Linked DNA regions of Homo sapiens: region 2 is linked to region 1. The links are contacts of gene promoters, found by promoter capture Hi-C in blood cells and fetal thymus (Javierre and others, 2016). All regions are on one chromosome and are shown on one strand. The core of a region is centred on a gene start or on the middle of the fragment in contact, and the rest is flanking DNA. Distances in the headings are between cores, read along the strand shown. Region 1 holds the start of MRPL23 (mitochondrial ribosomal protein L23). Region 2 has its middle 9.0 kb from the start of KRTAP5-6.

What was found. The method cuts DNA at HindIII sites, captures the fragments that hold promoters and counts their contacts. A CHiCAGO score of 5 or more calls a contact.
Region 2: a fragment that was not itself captured here is called in contact with the fragment with the promoter of MRPL23 in region 1 in 1 of 17 cell types (monocytes); the score reaches 5.9 in monocytes.

What each region holds. Positions count from the first base shown.
Region 1 is chr11:1,945,922-1,950,626 of GRCh38, forward strand. MRPL23 (mitochondrial ribosomal protein L23) reads left to right here and starts at 1,411. Exons shown (of 5, transcript NM_021134.4): 1 at 1,411-1,458. The coding sequence starts at 1,442. It overlaps SNORD131 (small nucleolar RNA, C/D box 131), which reads left to right and starts at 3,410; the gene lies at 3,410-3,555. RefSeq lists an enhancer at 3,340-4,077. The HindIII fragment of the contact is 42,193 bases long and covers 1-4,705 here.
Region 2 is chr11:1,703,980-1,708,463 of GRCh38, forward strand. No RefSeq gene overlaps it. Among named protein-coding and RNA genes, the nearest start is that of KRTAP5-6, 9.0 kb to the left of the region's middle. The HindIII fragment of the contact is 2,657 bases long and covers 1,492-4,148 here.

The DNA of each region.
Region 1 (4,705 bases), core at 161-2,660:
AGCTTCTCCACCTCACGCAGGCCTGGACAACAGTGGGGACGGCTGCCACCACCTTCCCTGCCCACTCTGGCCCACTTCTCACTCCATCCTGCTTCAATGCCTTCATGCTAGATAGACCCCCTGGAGTCATTTCCACTCAAACCCACCCATCAGGAGGAACTCCAGCCCTACCCGGCCCAGGCCCTCGGAGGGGCACAGTGCCCTCTCCTCCTCCTGAATTTCCATCAACCCCAGTGCCCTCCCGCAGCCCTGTTCCCACCTGCAGGCCTGGGCCCCCTGCCCCCAGCAACAACCAGGACCCATGGCCCCGCTTCTTGCTCTGAAGCATGACACCCCTGCCTCTTGCTCTGAAGAACACTTAGGGTGCTGTTGGGTGCGGGAACAAGCCAGGCTTGGGGGTGGGGGGCACGGGCAGTTAAAGAGATAGATGGAGAAGTGGCCTGAATCCAGCCACCAGGCAGAGGAAACCAGGGGAGGAGGGAGAGGCCTGGGGACAGGGGAGGGAGGCTGCTGCCCTCTACTCCCGAAGGGTCCCAGCAGCCCTCCTGGCCAGCACTACCCAAGGAAAGGAGTGAGGACTGGGCCTTGGACGGGGGTCCCTGTAGAGAGGGCCTTGCCAGAGGCTGGAGGGGGCTGGCCAGAAGGGTGGAGAGGGGGTGAGCAAACGGCAAGGCCTGAAGAGGCCAGTGGCCCTCTTGGAGGAGGCGTGGTGGGAGCACCGAGGATGGACAGCGTGGCTGGTGTGGCCAGCGTGGGGGCTGCCAACCGGGCTGGCCAGAAGGGCGAGGTGAGGGGCCCTGGGGTTCCGGGCTCCCGGGTAAAAACAGCCAGATGGAGAGAGGGGCTTCAGACCCCAGGCCCGGGGACCCGCCCTCCCCAGCACTACAGCCCCGGTTCTCCACTTCCAGCTCCCAGCAGCTGCAAGCGCAGCGGTGCGGGGCCAGGCTGTGGCCTGGAGCTGCCAAAGGGCAGGGGCACGGGTGTGGGGGGCGTGCAGGCCGGGGTCCCGGGAGGCAGGGCAGACAGGCCCGAAAGAGTGCGACGGCGGCGGGAGGTCTCTGGGGCTGGGAGGGGTGCGGGCGTGGGCGGGGCGCGAGCAGCAGGGGCGCGGGCCCGGGCTTCAGGCTGTGGGGCCGGGAGTGCGGGGCGGGACTGCTGCGGCCCCGCGTCCTGTGGAGTCTGCGGCGCGGGGAGTGGGGGTCGGGGCGGGGAGGAACGTGGGGTGCGGGACAGGAGGGGGGCAGGGAGGGAGAAGAAGGCGGCGCGGGGCGGGGCGGGCGCAGGGCTGGGGACGGCACGGGCGCGCGGCACGGGCGCTGGCGCGTGCGGGGGGGGCGGCGCGGCCTCCGGAAGCGAGGGGGCGCTGTGCCAGGCGGCGGCCGTGCGGGGCGGGCGCGCTGCTCCTTCCGCCTCGCGGACCCCGGAAGCGCGCGTGGCCGCCATGGCGCGGAATGTGGTGTGAGTAGGGGTCGTCACCCCCCCGTCGCGGGGCGCCCCTTAGTGTCACAAGCAGACGGACCCCACAGGGCGCGCGGACTCCGGGGAGCGGGGTGGGCGTCCCTGGGCCGCCTCCTGGCCCGGGCGAGGCAGGGTTCTCCGGGACCCCCTGTCATGCCTTGAGACACGCGAGGCGGGTGGCGGAGGAGCCCCCCGCCAGGTTTAGGGCAACCCCAGGGGGCGGGCGTGGCCGGGCTGGGGACAGAGGGTCCGAGCCAAACCCATGGAGGCCACGGTGCCCCCGCGTGGGGAGTGGGAGGGTGGCCCGGGGTCAGGCCCGGGGCTGGTCCCGCAGCCAGGGCCGAGGGAGCTGTTTGGAGACGTTTCTGATCGTCACGGGGCGGGGGCCACGTCGGCTGTTGGGTCCAGGCGGGGAGGCCCGGGCGGCCCCCACCGCAGCGCGGGCGCGGCCTGAGGCAGAGGAGCTGGGAATCCAGATTGGGTTTGAGTGGGAAAGGGCAGCTGACCGCAGCCCTCAGGGCTTTGGGGCAGGCAGGGCGGGAGGCCCGGTTCTGCTCAGCCCAGACCCCCCACGCCCACTCTGCATGTTCTCTGGATTCCCAGGGGGCCATCGGGGCGCTGTCCTGCACCACTTCGCCCTCCCCAAATTGAAGCAGGAAGCCCTGCATATTTCTTGGTGAACGAATGACTCAGGCGTAATCAGTAGATGTGGGCTCCCGGGTGGGTTTTGGAGAACAGTAATCAGTGTTTCTGGAGAGGGACGGTCAAGGGGCCAGGGTGTGGCTTTGGAGGCCCCTGCACATAGCTGGGGAGAGAGGGGAGGGTGGCAGGTGGGACCCCCAGTGGAGGAGGCTTCCTTCAGCAGACACCTGGGACCGGTGCTGCGCGTGGCCCTGACCTTGGGGAACACCCAGCACCAAGGAAGAAAAGGTCTGAGTGAGGCCAACACTGCCCTGAGCCTCACGTGAATTCCACGCTGGCCCTTCGCCTGTCCCTGGAGAATGAGGAGGAAGTGAGGGTCAGAGGACCCGGGTGGGGTGTTCCTGAAGGGCCAAGGGTGGTGGGCCCCTGGAAACGGATCAGGTGTGGTTGCCTTGGAGGCAGCGGGGCCCGCTCGCCCAGCAGTGCACACACTCCTGTTGCCAGGGAGCCTTTGCAGGGAGCGCTGACTGGACTTGCTGTGGACTGGATGCAGCTGGGGTGGGGGTGCCGAGAGGGTGGGATCCTGGGTGAGTCACTCGTGGGGCCGTGGGGAGGCAGGCTGGTGGCAGTGAGCCAGGTTTTTGTGTTTTGAGGAAGAAGTTAGTGCAGAGTTCTACTTGAGATAGGTTACCGTGGAGGTGCTTGTGAAATCCCATGCGGAGTGCTTGGGGTGCTCCCTGGGGAGAGTGGGACTGAGGGAACTGAGGGCTGGTGGGCCCACAAGGGTTCGAGAACAAAAGAGAGGCCTTAGAGCCCTGTCCTGGGGCCCTGGGTGTCGACAGTGCAGATTGTTCCAGATCTGCAGGCTCCATGCACAGGCAGCTGGCGCTCCAGCCTGGAGAGGCTCGGCCTGTGGGAACAAGGACAGTGAATCGTCCTGGCCCAACCCCTGCCAGCCTCTCATCTCAAGCCCACACATGGCCCTTCAGACCCTTAGCAAAGTGTGCCCTTCAGGCCCCAAGCCTGGAGACTCGAAAATTAATGGCCTGGGAGCTGTTGAACCCTCTTTTCTACTGTTTACTGGGAGTCCCCAAACTTTGTCTCCACTCCTGCAGTCCCACAGCTGGTCACCAGAGGGAATGTGTGAGCCCCTCGGGTGGCCATGGCTAGCCTGAACCTGTGGGTAAAACAAGTCAGGCCCCTCCACCTCCAGAGCCCACCCTTTCTTCTCGGCCTCTCACTGGGGCCCACCCCTGAAGGCTGCACTCTGAGGCTTGGAAAGGCCAAGGCCATGCCCAAGAGGAGGCTCTGCTGGGGTTGGGTGAGTGAAGACTCAGCCCCACTGGCCCGGCCACCAGGCTGCCATGTGTCAGTGTGGTCATCAGGAGGCCTGGGGTGGACATGATTAGTGATCGGGCTTTGTTACAGGCGCCTTGCCTCTGAGAGGTCCCAGCAGCTCCTGGCCCCTGCCAGGCCCTCAGGCCCAGAGGCTCAGTGCTGCCTACCACTGTTGGCCCTTCAGGAACACCCCACCCAAGGCCTCTGACCCTCACTTCCTCCTCATCTTCCCTAGACAGGCAGAGGCCAGCGTGAAATTCATGTGAAGCCTGGGGCAGCGTTGGCCTCACGGAGCCCCTCTTAACTTGGTGCTGGGTGCTCCCAAGGCCAGGGCCATGTGCAGTGCCTCAGATAAGGCCACCAGAGACCCCTCAAGAGCCCCTGTGCTCCCCGTCCACCAAGACCTGCACCTAGGCTCTCAGACCCCACATCCCCCGAGACCCAGCAGGCCTGAGTTTCTCCTGTGCCCCTCCTCCCCCCAGCTCTGAGGCCCAGATAGAGCCAGGGTGTGCCGGCAGTGGCAGGGGCGGGAACGGGGGTGGGGGACGGTAGGACGGTGCTGCCTGTCCACCCAGCTGAACGTGGGAGAATGCACGAAACCAACTGGCTAGAGATTCTGCACGATCGTCACCTGGCCCCCCAGCCCAGGCAGCGTGCTGGTCTAGTTTGCGGTGGCCACTTGGCACCTCTCCATCTGCCTCTGCTGGCTTTTAGTGGAGTGCTGGGGTGTGGTGCACTCAACTCACATTTAGTGTACTGAATCAGAGTCTTGGCAGCACCGTCTTCCAGGAGCCTAAGCCTGGTTAGCCTGCGTTCTCCATACCGAGGAGCTAGGCCCTGCTGCCACCGGGAGAGTGCGGAGCTGGCCTTTTCTGTCCCATGGTGTGTGGTTCTCTGCAGCTCCACTTCACCCGAGCAGCAGGAGAGTGGGCCGGCCGCGTGGGGTCTGCTCTCCCAGGGGTATCAGTGCCCCAACACACGTCTTTGAGCCTTGCCATCAGCTTATTGGGGGAATGCTGTCTGCGGGGTTCTGATTTTTGTCCATTGGCCTTTTCTAAAGTCTGACCTTGGGGGTCAACAGCGCATGCTCCTTAAGTCGATGCTAGGGACTGGCCGTCCACCTTGGCAGGCCCATGTGAGAAAGGGGCTGTGGGGACCTCTGTGTCCTTGGGTGGTGACCTGCTGATAGCTACCCCGTTTCCCGCCCACCCCTGTTGTGAGTGGACACGCGGGGGTCTGCAGGGTTAGCTACCCTGTTTCCCGCCCA
Region 2 (4,484 bases), core at 1,570-4,069, 240 kb before region 1:
TGGATGAAACTGAAAACCATCATTCTCAGCAAACTATCGCAAGGACAGAAAACCAAACACCACATGTTCTCACTCATAGGTGGGAACTGAACAATGAGAACACTTGGACACAGGAAGGGGAACATCACACACTGGGGCCTGTCGTGGGGTGGGGGGAGGGGGGAGGGAGAGCATTAGGAGATATACCTAATGTAAATGACGAGTTAACGGGTACAGCACACCAACATGGCACATGTATACATATGTAACAAACCTGCACGTTGTGCACATGTACCCTAGAACTTAAAGTGTAATAAGAAAACATTTAAAAAAGAAAAGAAAATAGAATAGCCAAAACAATTTTGAAACAAGAAATATAGTTGGAAGAATGACATTAGCTGACTTTGAGACATTCCATAAAGCGACAGCAATGTAGACAGTGTGGTATGGGCAGAGGGGTAGACACACAGATCAAGGGAAAAGCACGGAGTTGAGATGTCACTCGCACACACAAGACTGCGCTAATTTATGACAAAGGGGCAAGACAACTAAATGGAGAAGTGTCTGCTGCAATCACAAAATACCTGTGACTGGGTATTTTACAAACAATAGAAGTACATTTCTCACAGTTTTGGAGGCTAGACGTCCCCAGATCAAGGTGCCAGTATTCTGCATCTGGTGGAGGCTCTTTGCTGTGTCCTTTTGGTGGAAAACATAAGGGGCAAAAAGGACCCAAGCTCATCCCCCCCAGCCCTTTAATGAGGCACTAATCTATGCCTGAGAGCAAAGCCCTGACTTGATCACTTCTCAAGAGACCCCACCTCTTAGTAACACCATAACAGGGGTTAAGTTACAGCGCATGAATTTTGGGGAACGCATTCATACCAGCGCGCGAAAGGAGAACCGTTTCCAAAAAATGGCATTGGAACAATTGAACCGCCGTAGACAAAACGAAAACAAAACCTCAACCTCAACCTCATACTTTATATAAAATTAACTCTATGCCCATCATAGACCTAAATGTTGAATATAAAACAATAAAACATTTGGAATAAAACAGGAGAAAGTCTTAGTGACCTTGAATAATAAAAACACACTGTGTAAGAAATAATAATGTGAGTGAAATTCAGTGTCCTTTAAAGATAAAAGGTCACGTCATAAGGAGAGAGACACACTTGGCAGTGCTCCTGGTTGCTGGTGGAGGACCAAGTGAGTCCTTATTTAGAAGGGACATTTTTTTTTTCTGTGCCATTTTCTTCATCGAACATTTAGTCCTTTGAAAGCTTGTGATTATCTTATGTTCAAATGCTATGAAATAATAAAGTCACAGGGCAGTCCCACTGCAGCGTGACAATGAGGGGGAACTCCAGAGATCCACTTCCATGTGAAACTGGTGAAGACTTTAAAAACAAAAACAAACGAAACCCCACCCCCAACAACCATTTAAAGCATCTGCAAATGGCCCTGTAGCCATTTCAAATAGAGAAACATTTATTCAAGAAAATCGACTAAAGCTTAGTGAGAACTGTGTGAGTCTGTGGTATCTGAGCCAATGCGTGTGCCCTCTCCCAGCCCAGTGAGACAGAAGCTCCACTCCAGGCTGTACAGCCAGGAATGCAAGACTATCTCTCCTCCAGTTTCTGTAATTGCCCGACAGGCTCTTCCCGCCCGCTGCACAGACAAAACCAGTTCACTCTGAGAACATGGTATTGCAGTAAATGAAATGTTTAATTAACGCAAGGCCTGCCAGGTGGAAGAACTGGAATGATCACTCAAACCCGTCTCCCTGAAGGCTTGAAGGTTAGGGTTTTTCCAGGACAGTGTGGTGGGTGGGGGGCTGGGGAATGGGTGCTCCTCATTGGTTGCGGGGGCAATCACAGGGGTGTGGAAAATGGTCCTTGTGCCCTGAATCTGCCTCTGGGTGGATAACAACCCCAAAGTGAAAGCAACCCAGACATCCTTCAACGGGTGAACGGTTAAACAAGTCGTGAGTCACGAGTCTGCATGGGGTCAGTTGGAAAACCACCTCAAAAGACCAATCTTAATTCTACCACAGTGATATTATCTATAGGAGCAACTGGGGAAGCCACAAATCTTGTGATCTCTGGACAAATGACTCCTAAGCAGAGGGGGATTATAGAAACTATGCCTATATTTTAGCAGAACTCATGCCCTCCTGTAATTCTAATCTTGTGGTCTTTCATTAGTCCTATAAAGGCAGTTTCAGCTCCCCAAAAAGGAGGGGATTTGTTTTAGGGCGGGACCGTTATCATCCTTGCTTACAAGTTAAACTATAAACTAAATTCCTCCCATGGATATAATAGAGGCAGGAGGCAGACAAATCCCAGGCAGATGGGGGTGGGTCCCCAGTGAAACCTCACCTTCAAGCCAAAACATCCTGAAACCTGCAGCCCAGAGTGAAAACTTCTATTCTTGTTTGCCTGCTCGCTCCGGATTGGTTCATTTTGAATAATGCCTTTTTAACCAATCAAATACTGCCTTTTCCAATACTACCTATGGCCTGGCCTGCCCCCGTCCTGGGCCTATAAAGACTCCAGACTCAGTTGGTAGAGAGAGAGAGAAGGCCTGACTTCAAGGAAGAGATCTCCTGACTTTGGGGAAGACGACCTGCCCTCCCTGTCCCCTTTCCAGTTCCCCTCTCTGCTGAGAGCTGTTTTCATTGCTCAGTAAAAGTCTCCACTTTCACCATCCTTCAATCACCAGCATGACCTCATTCTTCTTGGACGCTGGACAAGAGCTCAGGACCCACAGAGTGCAGGTACCTAGAAAGGATGTCACCCGGGCCCTTTGCCCTCGCCAGCAGAGGGCAGCTGCCCCACGCGATGAGGCCAGGGGCCGACCGAGCTGCTAACACATTGCCCTCCATTGGGATGTGGATGGTGGAACTATAAGAGCTGATTAGAGCACTAACACCCCCTCTGGGGCTTCGGGGTTGCGGGCACCCTTGTCTGGGCACTGCCATGTTCTCCTCGAGGTGACACACCTGGTCTGGCTGTGGGCCCCACGTGGAGTTTGCTCCCGTGTCAGCGTTCAGAGTGGCTGGCCAGATCCCACACTTGCTCGCTCATGCACTCCCTCCCGCAAGGGGCTGAGCATGCTGGGCCAAGTAGATGAGGAGCCTCTGCTGTGAGTCCAGCAAAGAGGCTGAGAAAAAATCCTGCATCAGTTAGCTTGGCCTGAGTCCAGGAATAAGCAAGGACAACCAGCCTATGAGCCAGAAGCAAGATGGAGTCAGCCATGCTAGACCTCTCTCGCTGTCAAAAGGTAGTTTCACTTCCAGTTGGTGAGGCTCTCTTCCTGTGAGGGTCAGTGTGCTAGCATCCTGCCCCCAGCTACCTGTGTCTCAGGCTGAATTCTGAGTGAGTGTGTCCGAGAGGTGAGGGTCCCTTCCTCTACTCAGCCTCAGGTCTCACTCATGCAGCAAAGGCTGCCCTGGGTTCATCATGCTGAGAATCCTGGGTCTCGGGTCTCTGGTCACCTTTGCTCCAGCTTATGGGAGGGGTTCATGCTGAGAGAGGCAAGCTGAGGACACCTGGAGCTGCTGCCCATCACTCAAGTGTCCAGCTTCTAAAGTAGGCATGACACCAGTGAGCCAAGATCCCTGCCGTCAGTTCCAGAGCTGTGGCTTAGAGATTTTGTCCAGGGAGAATGGCAGGATGTAGAACAGAGGATCTCCTAGTCTCTCCCAAAAGGAACTGACTTCATTTGCAACAGAGTATGAAGTTCAAACCTAAGGGTGCTCTCAGAGTCAGTGGCGGTTGTGGTGAAGGGCAACTGGGAGAAGATTGATAGATTCTTTAGAGACGTAGCCTAACTCTAAGATGGCTAGTTTTCTGGAGAGAAATGGAGAAAGAGAGAGCTGGGAAGAGACTTTCTGGGTTAGTAAGAAATCTCAAGCACTGGCCTTTCCTTTCAAAGGAGTCAGAATTTGATTGGATTAGTCTGTGAAGCAATTTATTCCCTAGGGTGATGTCAAAAACAATCGAGCAACCAGCTTGCAATGACGAATTTAGCAGCTGGGTTTGGTCAGGGAAAGAGACGAAGAGAGCCTTCCCACACCCCCATCATATCAAGGTGGACCTGCCCACTACTTCTCAGGGGAAACAGACTTTACTGCAGTATTCCAGTCATTGCAGCTTTCACCTAAAAGCTTTCACACAATTGCTTTGGGCTATTCATAATAGCCCCACACTGAAAATCCAGGCGTCCTTCAATGGGCGAACAGTTAAATAAGTTGGGGCTCGTTCAGCTTATGGAATATGTTTAGCAAGAAAAAGGAATGAACTATTGATACATACCACAGCCTGCTAATCTCCAGAGAATCATGCTGAATGAAAAATAAAAAGCCAATTCAAAAGGTTACATGCTGTTTTATTTCAGTTACATAACATCCTTGAAATGAAAACTTTATAGAAATGGATAACCAATTAGTGTCTCCTAGGGTTTATCGCCCAGGGTTCCGGCAGTGATGAATGTGGTCTGTG